2 separate regions of the Homo sapiens genome follow, and region 1 is linked to region 2. The links are contacts of gene promoters, found by promoter capture Hi-C in blood cells and fetal thymus (Javierre and others, 2016). All regions are on one chromosome and are shown on one strand. Each heading gives the region's core, a stretch centred on a gene start or on the middle of the fragment in contact. The rest is flanking DNA. Distances are from core to core; before and after follow the strand shown. Region 1 has its middle 23 kb from the start of BEND3. Region 2 holds the start of SOBP (sine oculis binding protein homolog).

Region 1 (5,380 bases), core at 200-2,699, 350 kb after region 2:
GAAATTATTTAATATTTAATCCAAACTGCTCAATTTTCTTTTTCTTTTTCTTTCTTTTTTTTTTTTTTTTGAGACAGAGTCTCGCTCTGTCGCCCAGGCTGGAGTGCAATGGTGCGATCTCCGCTCACTGCAGCCTCCACCTCCTGGGTTCAAGCAATTCTCCTGCCACAGCCTCCCTAGTAGCTGGGACTACAGGCGCATGCCCCAACACCCAGTTAAGTTTTGTAATTTTAGTAGAGACGGGTTTCACTATGTTGGCCAGGATGGTCTTGGTCTGCTGACCTCGTGATCCACCCGCCTCGACCTCCCAAAGTTCAATTTTCTTAAAAGTGACCACCAACACCATCAACATATGTTTATAGACTAGATGTATCACTTGTTTACCCAAATTGTAGCATAAATATCTGTTTTTAGAAAGCTTTTCCATAAGTCTTTCTATATGATTGGATTATTAAGCAAGGCTATGATTAGGAAATAAACCACTTTCCCCTTTAGCTAGTTCTAATGAAAGCTTTCCAAATTAAACACTGTGTTTGAACACTTCTTCCATTCATAGCATGTGCTCATCAAAAAGTGCTTTCCGTTTCTGGTATGTCAACTGTACTATTTATAACCTAGTTAACAAAGCCAACTAAAGGCAGTAAAAGGTGTGTATTTCATATGCAAATTCCTAGCAATAATTTCTACAGTTACATATAGTTGCTTGCTCCGTTATGTTCAACATCAGCGTTATAAAACTGATTACAGGAAGGAGAAAATAATACTAAAATTATATTTTTATATTCCTTAATGGGTTTTTATTAAATACATTAGAAAGATAAATAGTACAAAATGGAAGTAGCCCTGATTTATAATGGACGTTTTTGCAAAGTGACTGATGACCTGTTATAGTAACTGTGCAGAGGAAGAAAATCACTGTGTGACATAGGCTCTTTCTATTTTGTCTCCAAATTTGTGTTTCCTTTTTTTGTTTTTTTGTTTGTTTGTTTGTTTGTTTGTTTGTTTGTTTTTGAGATGGAGTTTTTGCTATTGTTGCCCAGGCTGGAGTGCAATCTCAGCTCACCGCAACCTCCGCCTCCCAGGTTCAAGCGATTCTCCTGCCTCAGCCTCCCAAGTAGCTGGGATTATAGGCATGCGTCACCACGCCCAGCTAATTTTATATTTTTAGTAGAGTCGGGGTTTCGCCGTGTTGGTCAGGCTGCTCTCGAACTCCTGACCTCAGGTGATCCGCCCGCCTTGGTCTCCCAAAGTGCTGGGATTACAGGCGTGAGCCATCGCGCCCGGCTCAAATTTGTGTTTCCTTAACAATCCTCTTTGCTTCTTTATTTTACCAGATTGTGATTCCCCTGACTTAGAAACCATCAACGGAAAAATAAGAGGCCGGGCGCGGTGGCTCACATCTGTAATCCCCGCACTTTGGGAGGCCGAGGCGGGCAGATCATGATGTCAGGAGATCGAGACCATCCTGGCTAACACAGTGAAACCCTGTCTCTACTAAAAATACAAACAAAAGTCAGCTGGGCATGGTGGCACGTGCCTGTAGTCCCAACTACTCCGGAGGCTGTAGGCGGAGGTTGTAGTAAGCCGAGATCACGCCACTGCCCTCCAGCCTGCGTGACAGAGTGAGACTCCATCTAAAAAAAAAAAAGAAAAAGAAGTAAGAAACCAGGATAAGTTAATGCCTTCTTTTCATTGACATTTATTAAGTGTTACTATGTGCATAGCACTGCCTTGGATACAAAGGTAAACCATAGAATGAGATTATTTGTGTCTTTCCCACTATACTGTGGGCTTCTTGGGATCAGATTCTCTTTGAAAATAGTGGAAGATAACCAATGGAATAAACAGATCTGGGTTCAAATCCTAGCTTCTTGGCTGGGCGTGGTGGCTTATGCTTGTAATCCCAGCACTTTGGGAGGTCGAGGCAGGTGGATCGCTTGAGGCCAGGAGTTCGAGGCCAGCCTGGCCAATATGGTGAAACCCCATCTCTACAAAAAATACAAAAATTAGCTGGGCGTGGTGGCGTACGCCTGTAGTTCCACCTACTCAGGAGGCTGAAGCACGAGAATCACTTGAGCCTGGGAGACGGAGGTTGCAGTGAGCAGAGATCCAGCCACTGCACTCTAGTCTGGGCAACAGAGCGAGACTGTCTCAAAAAAAACAAACAAAACAAAACAAAAAAACCTCAAATCCTAGCTTATCTATCAGGTGTGATGAGACAAATTCTCCAGGTTTCTTCTTCCTTTCTTGTGGAATTGGATAGTCGTGCTTACTAGTAAAGAATAGCTGCTAATTGCCTGAAGGCACCAATCACTGTACCTACCACAGAGGGTGCCATTCGATAAATGCTGTTAAAGGAAATGTGTTTTTATAACAATGAAGCTTAGGCTGGGCGCGGTGGATCATGCCTGTAATCCCAGCACTTTGGGAGGCCGAGGCGGGCGGATCACAAGGTCAGGAGATAGAGACCATCCTGGCTAATATGGTGAAACCCCATCTCTACTAAAAAAAATACAAAAAATTAGCCAGGCGTTGTGGCGGGCGCCTGTAGTCCCAGCTACTCGGGAGGCTGAGGCAGAAGAATGGCATGAACCCGGGAGGCAAAGCTTGCAGTGAGCCGAGATCGCGCCACTGCACTCCAGCCTGGGCGACAGAGCGAGACTCCATCTCAAAAAAAAAAAAAAAAAAAACAATGAAGCAAGCAAGTAAAATAGAGTAATAGTAAAGGAACACTGGTTTACAAACTCTAATCAGAAGAATACAGGTTATAAAATAGGTCTAGAGACTTCTTTGAACATAAAGGACAGGACCTGGCACGGTAGCTCACGCCTGTAATCCCAGCACTTTGGGAGGCCGAGGCGGGTGAATCACCTGAGGTCAGGAGTTGGAGACCAGCCTGGCCAATATGGAGAAACCCCGTCTCTACTAAAAATACAAAATTAGCCAAGCATGGTGGTGCATGCCTGTAATCCCAGCTACTCGGGAGGCTGAGGCAGGAGAATTGCTTGAACCCAGGAGGCGGAGGTTGCAGTGAGCCAAGATCGCACCATTGCACTCCAGCCTGGGCAACAAGAGCGAAACTCAGCCTCAAAAAAAAAAAAAAAAAAAAAAAGGGAAGAGGTTGGATTAGAACAGTATTTGCACAATATGGTCTATGAACCACTCATATTAAAATCAAGGGCTTGCATTAGAATAAGGGCTGTATCCAGACCTATGTTTTTCAGAATTTTCAGGTAATTCTCACACACACACCCTGTTTTAGATCCACTGGAGTCGATGATACATTCCTAAACTTCCATTGACATATAATTCCTGGTGAGGGCCGGGCGTGGTGGCTCATGCCTGTAATCCCAGCACTTTGGGAGGCCGAGGCAGGTGAATCACTTGAGGTCAGGAGTTCGAGACCAGCCTAGGCAACATGGTGAAACCCTGTGTCTACTAAAAATGCAAAAAATTAGCTGGGCATGGTGGCACATGTCTGTAGTCCCAGTTACTTGGGAGACTGAGGAAGAAGAATCACTTGAACCCGGGAGGCGGAGATTTCAGTAAGCTGAGATCATGCCAGTGCACTCCAACTTGGGTGACAGAGCAAGACTCCATCTCAAAAAAAAAAAAAAAAAGATAATAATAATTCCTGGAGTGATGCAGCAGACACACATGAACTTTGAAGTAAGACAGGTTCCAGGCGTACTGGAATGCTTAACATTTAAGCCAGCAACAACTAATAAAAGCAACAATCCAATGCAAAGAAGAAAGGGGAAAAGAAAAATGTGTAGTGCTATGGTTTGGATATGGTGTGTCCCTATCAAAACTCATGTTGAAATTTGATTCCCAGCTGGGCACAGTGGCTCACGCCTGTAATCCCAGCACTTTGGGAGGCCAAGGCGGGTGGACTGCCTGAGGTCAGGAGTTCGAGACCAGCCTGGCCAACATAGTGAAACCCCGTCTCTACTAAAAATACAAAAAATTAGCTGGGCGAGGTGGTGGATGCCTGTAATCCCAGCTACTCGGGAGGCTGAGGCAGGAGAATCGCTTGAACCTGGAAGGCAAAGGTTGCAGTGGGCTGAGATCAGGCCATTGCACTCCAGCCTGGGCAACAAGAGCGAGACTCCGTCTCAAAAAAAAAAAAAAGAAAGAAAGAAATTTGATTCCCAATGTGGCAGTGTTGGGAGGTGGGGCCTAGTGGGAGGTGTTTGGGTCATGGGGGTGGATTTCTCATGAATGGATTAATGCTCTCCCAGGAACCCATTCTCACACTTGCAGGAATGAGTTAGCTTTCCAGAGAGTGGGTTGTTAAGAGTCTAGCTTCCTTGGTTTTTCTCCCTTGCTTTCTCTCTTGCCTTATGATCTTTGCACACTCCCATTCCCCTTCCTCTTTCCACCATGAGTGGAAGCAGCCTGAGACCTTCACCAGATGCAGCTACCCAATCTTGAACCTTCCGGCCACCAGAATCCTGAGCCAAATAAACCTCTTGATAAATTACCCAGCCTAATTCTGTTATAGCAACACAAAACAGACCAAGACCTGTAGTAAATGAAAAATATGGAATAAAAAGGCAGAAATAAGTACTTATAATGAATTATAATAAATAAAAATTAATTAAATTCAATTAAAAAACAGACTTTCAGATTGAATTAAACAGATCCAATAATAAGATTATCTCAAAGAGAAATTTAAATCAAAAAGACAGGCCAGGTGCTCATGCCTGTAATCCCAGCACTTTGGGAGGCCAAGGCAGGTAGATCACTTGAGCCCAGGAATTCAAGACTAGCCTGGAAACATGCAAAACTTCGTCTCTACAAAAGAATGCAAAAATTACCCAGCAGTGGTGGTACTTACCTGTAGTTCCAGCTACTTGGGAGGCTGGGGTGGAAAGATTGCTTGACCCTGGGAGGCAGAGGTTGCAGTGAGCTGAGATTGCGCCACTGCACTCCAGCCTGGGCAACAGAGTGGGACCCTGTCTCAAAAAAAAATAAATAAATAAAGACAAAAACAAATAAAAATTGAGCTGGGCATGGTCGCTTACAACTGTAATTCCAATTTATCAATTTCTGAAAAGCATGTGTTAAAATCTTTTAACCTGATGTATCTATTCCTGCAATTTTTTCAGGTGCTTCTTGCTCTATCATTCATCAGTGTGTAACACCCTTCTTTTTCCCTTATTATATATTTTTTCCCTTATATTCTACATTGTCAAATACTAAGATTCTTCCTCGATTCTTTTTTTTTTTTTTTCTTGAGACAGGGTCTAGCTATGTCGCCCAGGCTGGAGTGCAGTGGCGCAATCTCAGCTCACTGCAACCTCCACCTCCGGGTTCAGGAGACTCTCATGCCTCAGTAACCCCAGTAGCTGGGATTACAGGCATGCGCCACCACACT
Region 2 (5,235 bases), core at 301-2,800:
ATATCAATAGAGACTCGTGAAATCAACACAGAATAAAACCCTCGCCCAGGCAAAAGCCGCAACTTCATGGAAAATAAGGAGGTGGGGGGCAACGAGGGGGTCCAGAGCTGAGCGGTGCTCTTGTGCAATTGCTCTAACGCGAACAGCTGGAGCGCCAGGCTGCTGCGCTCTCCACCTCTGGTGCACCGCTGGCCTGGCGGGGAGCCCAGCCTCGCCGAGAGGACTCCGGGCCGGCCTTAGCGAACAATGGACAGGCGCCCTGCAAAGGCCGCCCCTCAGACAGCTGTCCTCCAGCGGGGCTGGCCGGGGTCTGCTTGGCTGGGAAGTGAGGCAGGCAGAGGCGAGCGGGAGGCGGAGGCTGCCAGTGGTGAGGTGCGGGCGGGGGCGGGCGAGGAGAGCGGTCAGGACCGTGCCCAGACCCGCGCCTCTCGGGCCGCAGCTCGCCGGGCACTGACGGGCTCTTCACGCCGTCGCAGCTGGTTGGTTGGGGGGAAGCGGGATTGAGGAGCAGGAGGGTGAGCTGGGGGAGAGGGGTGGAATAGAGCTCTCTCCGGGGTGCCCCGGCCAGGAGGCTCCTAACTTTGGAGGGACCCTGAGGATGATTCTCAAAAAGGGGGGAGAAACTGCACCGTCCACTGGGAAAGCCTCTTCCCCTGCCCAACGCCGCTCGAGTCCCCGGTGCCCTCGCCCTGAAACGCGTCCGTGCCAACCTGGGATTCGTAAGGTTAAATAGTATGTGGTCCCCCCTCATCAAATCTGAGGTTGGCAACAATTTCGGGGATGCAGCCCTCGAGTTGGCCTCTGCTTTACACCTGGAGGAGGAGCGGAGCCGTTCTGGGCATCCTACAGAAACTGACAAGCGCGCCCCGGTACCCCCCAGATCCATACCACGGCCCACGGGGAGCGGGCGCAAGAAAGAGCTCAGTCTCCCTGGCCCCCGAGATCAAAAAATACCTTCATCTCCTCATTGATCTCCCTTTTCACTGGGTGAGCCGGCTTCCTGCTCCGTTTATTTTCGGGAGGTCTCCCTTCTTTCTCCATTTCTGCCATGTTTTTGTGTCTGGTTTCTGTGGAGATGAAATGGCTGCTGCCGCCGCCGGCGGTGGTGGTGGCGGCGGCGGCGGCGGTGGAGGTGGTGCTGATGGTGGCGAGGCTGGCGGAGGTAGCGGTGCTGGCGGGGCCGGACCGAGCCGCGAGGGGGAGGGCAGGCGCCGAGAAGCGGGGTCTCTTCTAGCGGCGGAGGACGTCAGTGGCTGTCACGGGTAAGGATAGTGCGGAGAGTCTCGGGGATGCCGCCGCCGTCGCTCCGGCTCCTGCTGCCGCCGCCGCCGCCGCCGCAGCCAACGCCGCCGCTGCTGCCGCTGCCCCTGCCGCCCTCGCTGCCGCTGCCGCTCCCGCCGCCGCCGCCGCCGGGCCGCATCCTCGGGGCCCCGTGGAGTCGTCAGCCATCTTCCGTCGCTCGGTCCGTCCGCATGGGCGCGGGGAGCAAGGGCCGGCGCGGAGAGCGGCCCCGGGCGTGCGTGCGCGGCTGTGTGTGAGCCCGGGAGAGCGCGCCAGCCCCGGCGCCCAGCGCCTCCCGCGAGCCGAGCCGGGGGCGGGCCGGGGGCCGGCGCGGGAGGAGGGGAGGGAGCGCGGCCGGGAGGGGGTCGGAGGGAGGGGAAAGGTGGGGGGGGCGAGGACAGCCCCCCGGCTCTCGAGCGGGCGTGGCTTCCACCGTCACTGGATACGCGGATGCTGCGCGGCTCCGGGGGCTGCTCGCAGCCGCCTGTTCATCCGCGGCGGGCACGGGCGGCTCGCGGCGCCCCCCGCGGCCGCCACCTCCCCGCCACACGCCAGGGGCGCCGGCGCCCGCTCGGAACCCAGCCCTGCTTCTCAGCTCCGCGAGGTGGGCTGGGTTGCGTGTGGAGTTGGTTTTTGAGCCCGTCCTAGGAGCCGCTGAGGAAAAATGAATGGGGGTGAAAGGAGAAGGTTGGGCGGCGGGAGGTCGCGAGACCTGAGGTCGCCTGGCTAGAGGGCCGCCGTCCCCCGGGGAGGGTTGACTGAGCCTGCCGCCTCGGGGGTGCAACGCTGGGGTCTCGGGGAAAGGAAACCACAGCCCGGACGAGCTTCCCCCCACTGAGCTGCCAGAATAGTTTCCCCCTCCGGGGGCCACCGCAGAGTGCGCGGAGGCTGGAGACCCCTTGGAGAGGTCCCCGCGCCCCGCCCGGCCGGTCCTCCACGCGGCGCTGCCTCGGACTGCAATGGCAATGAAGCTTTTGCCTCTCAAAGAACTACTTAGAAGTAGGACATCTCGGCCTTCAGCCCCTTCATTTCTTTTTCCCCTTGTTCCTTCTCTCTTTATCTCTCTCTCACTTATGCCCTGCTTCAAAGTAACAGCTTTACGCGTGACCCCGCCTGCACCCTTATCTGGGTGTCCTGGGTTTCGCCCAAAAGGTTGGGCTGAGTGGGAGCTTCTGGGAGCGCACGGTCCCGCGTAGGGTCCCGCTCACCCGGACCCCGAACGCCCTCGCCACGCCCCGGTGGGATCCTCCCCTCCCCGCCTGGTTGCACTTTCTCCTCCCGACTTCCCAGCTAGCGCCTGCCCTCCATGGAGCGGTGCTCGCTCCCTCTGCGCTCACAAGTCCCCTCTTTGGCCCTCTCCTGCCACGCCTGGGGCCGAGGTCTGATTGAGTCTGTCCCTGTCCCTGGGTTGAGGCATTGGGGGTGACGACTGGATGATGTTTCTGTGATACGCGCGGCTCTGAGCGCTCCCACACGTTGCAGAGGACACATTGACGTTCCCGGCTTCTCCTTCCCGCGCCTCGACACTTCATAATTACCTGACACAATGCGATATGGGGGTGTCCATTGTTCCACTGCATGTTACTGTGGAGTGTTCGTTATGACAGTGGTGGAACTTAAAATTACACAATTTTTTTAAGTTCCTAAAAGAATGAATTCCGTGTGGGGATATGAGTAAGCTTTCCATTAAATCTCAGTTTGGCCTGTCAAACGAGGCTCATTCTGGGTATTACATCGCCTAATTTGCATTTTAGCATTGTTTTGTTTCTTAAATGTCACATTAGAGATACATGGGCGTGTACGCAGGAGAGCTGAGTACCTCCACGTTGCCTATTTTGCATTTTAGCATCATTTTGTTTTTAATAAACGCCAACTTAAAAACATCTGGGAGTGCACCCAGGAGGGCTGAGTACCTCCTCCCTCCTGATTTCTTCTCTTCCCCGTCCCGGGGAGGCGAGGGGAAGCTGCACCCTGCTCCCCGTGGCTGCCTAGATCCTGGGCAAGCCAGGAGGCCAGAGCGAGCCAGGCTTTGCGCCTGCAAGGGGTCCGCGCGAGAAACACTTACGCCGAGGAAAAGTTAAAATTCCTGGGACGCCCAAGAGTCAAGAGAGGAAGACTGATGAGGTTTTAGGGGAGCTTTGCAGTACAGGCGTCCTGTATTTGCGATTTTCCCAGTAGCCTCTGAGAACCTATCTAGGTACACTCAGGTCGTGAGCCGCGAGTCCTGTGGCCGGGTCTCAGAGCCCGCAGCAGCCCACAGCGCACCTACGACGACCCAATAACGCGGAGAGGAGCCTAAAGCTGTCGCAGCAACCTCCCCCCACTCCTGGAATGATAGTGCAACATTCGCCAGTGGGTGAGTGGGTGTATTTTGCGGTGGGGAGTATCTCCCTAATGCTGTTGCTGGGAGAGGGAGAGGAAGAGAGAGACTTTTGGTTTTTTAAATTGAATTTCATCCAAAACATCTGATAAATAATATGTGGGTTGGAGAGTTGTTTTCTCTGTTTGATCCTGTTAGTCTTTAATGAGGGAAATAGTGAGAAAACTTTTTGGGGGGCTTTTTAATATTCTAAAACTGTGGAAACATATGTTGTAAACTGTACGCAAAAAGCAGCTTTTTGTCTTCTGTAAACATATTTAAGTCCCCTCTGTTTCCTTTGGTGCCAGAAGCATTACAACTGATTCACTGTTGAGCAGCTGATATCAAATAGCAAGTTATATACCCCAAGTCCTAAGATACAGTTTCACAAGTTAAGAATAAAATAAACAGAAAAGGTGAACTGTAGCCCAGAGTTATATTTAGAGGCAGCTATACTTCTTTAAAGAAAATTACTTATTCTGTGATGGTTCAGGCATTTAATAAAAATAATGATATTAAACAGCCACCTGTTCCTTCACAAACATATGTCCTTCAGAAAACTGAGGTGAGAACATTGTATTGAAATCCACAATGCACATCTTTGGTGACAGAAAGAAGGCTCATAAAGTATATCTGAGGAAAACTTTTAGTCTAGAATGAACTTCAGAAGTAATGATGATTGTTACACCTTTTAATGACCCTAGGTTTCTTCATATCTACTGTAGACGAAAACAATTATAACAACAGATGATGCTTTATGAATTTAGATATACCATGAGTTAAATAATGTTCCCTGAATAACTTCATAATCCATAAGAGTATAACTACACAGGTAGGAACAACACATTATACGCATTTCAGAGGAGCCCCACTCCTGCTCCAATGACGTATCCTTTTGCTCCCCAACCACTAGCACTCTCCTGCGTGCTTGCTTTCTCTCTCTATACCCACACATATCACCCAAGGCTCCAGACATGCAATTAATCCTCAATTTTCCCTCTACTACCCCTGCTAGTCATCAAGATGGGTACAGGACTGATCTTTCATACATTCCTCAGGTACAATTTTGTGACTTCTTTTACCCTTCAAGGCTAGTCTTGATGATCATTCTACCCTGATTCACCTAGAAAACACAGAGGATGGGAAGACCCCAGGGTGGTCTGCCTCAGGCCTCCAACCTCCCCATTTGTTTCTTTGTTGTCTCCAAGAACACTTAACTCAGAGACCGAGTCCTCATGCCTGGTGAGGAATTAATAAACACTAGCTGATTGATTAGTATGATATAATAACAAAGTTAAAAAGTTTTCCTGTATTATTGTTTGAAATTAATGTTTATCTTGAAAAGCTCTGTGATTTAACCAAATATGGGGATTAAAATATGTGAAATAATTACTATGCTGAACACATTGTAGTAATTATCTTCATTTAATAATCACAAAACTCTATGAGGCTGTTTCTACTATTATACCCCCATTTCACAGATGAGGAAACTAAGGCTTATATAAGCTATTAAGATAAAGGCTATTGGCCAGGTGCGGTGGCTCAGGCCTGTAATCCCAGCACTTTGGGAGGCTGAGGCAGACAGACCATTTGAG

The links. The method cuts DNA at HindIII sites, captures the fragments that hold promoters and counts their contacts. A CHiCAGO score of 5 or more calls a contact.
Region 1: a fragment that was not itself captured here is called in contact with the fragment with the promoter of SOBP in region 2 in 1 of 17 cell types (erythroblasts); the score reaches 5.5 in erythroblasts.

The regions. Positions count from the first base shown.
Region 1 is chr6:107,135,994-107,141,373 of GRCh38, reverse strand. No RefSeq gene overlaps it. Among named protein-coding and RNA genes, the nearest start is that of BEND3, 23 kb to the right of the region's middle. The HindIII fragment of the contact is 1,871 bases long and covers 514-2,384 here.
Region 2 is chr6:107,486,432-107,491,666 of GRCh38, reverse strand. SOBP (sine oculis binding protein homolog) reads right to left here and starts at 1,550. Exons shown (of 7, transcript NM_018013.4): 1 at 955-1,550. The coding sequence starts at 1,050. RefSeq lists silencers at 1,171-1,230, 1,271-1,320. The HindIII fragment of the contact is 8,594 bases long and covers 1-2,254 here.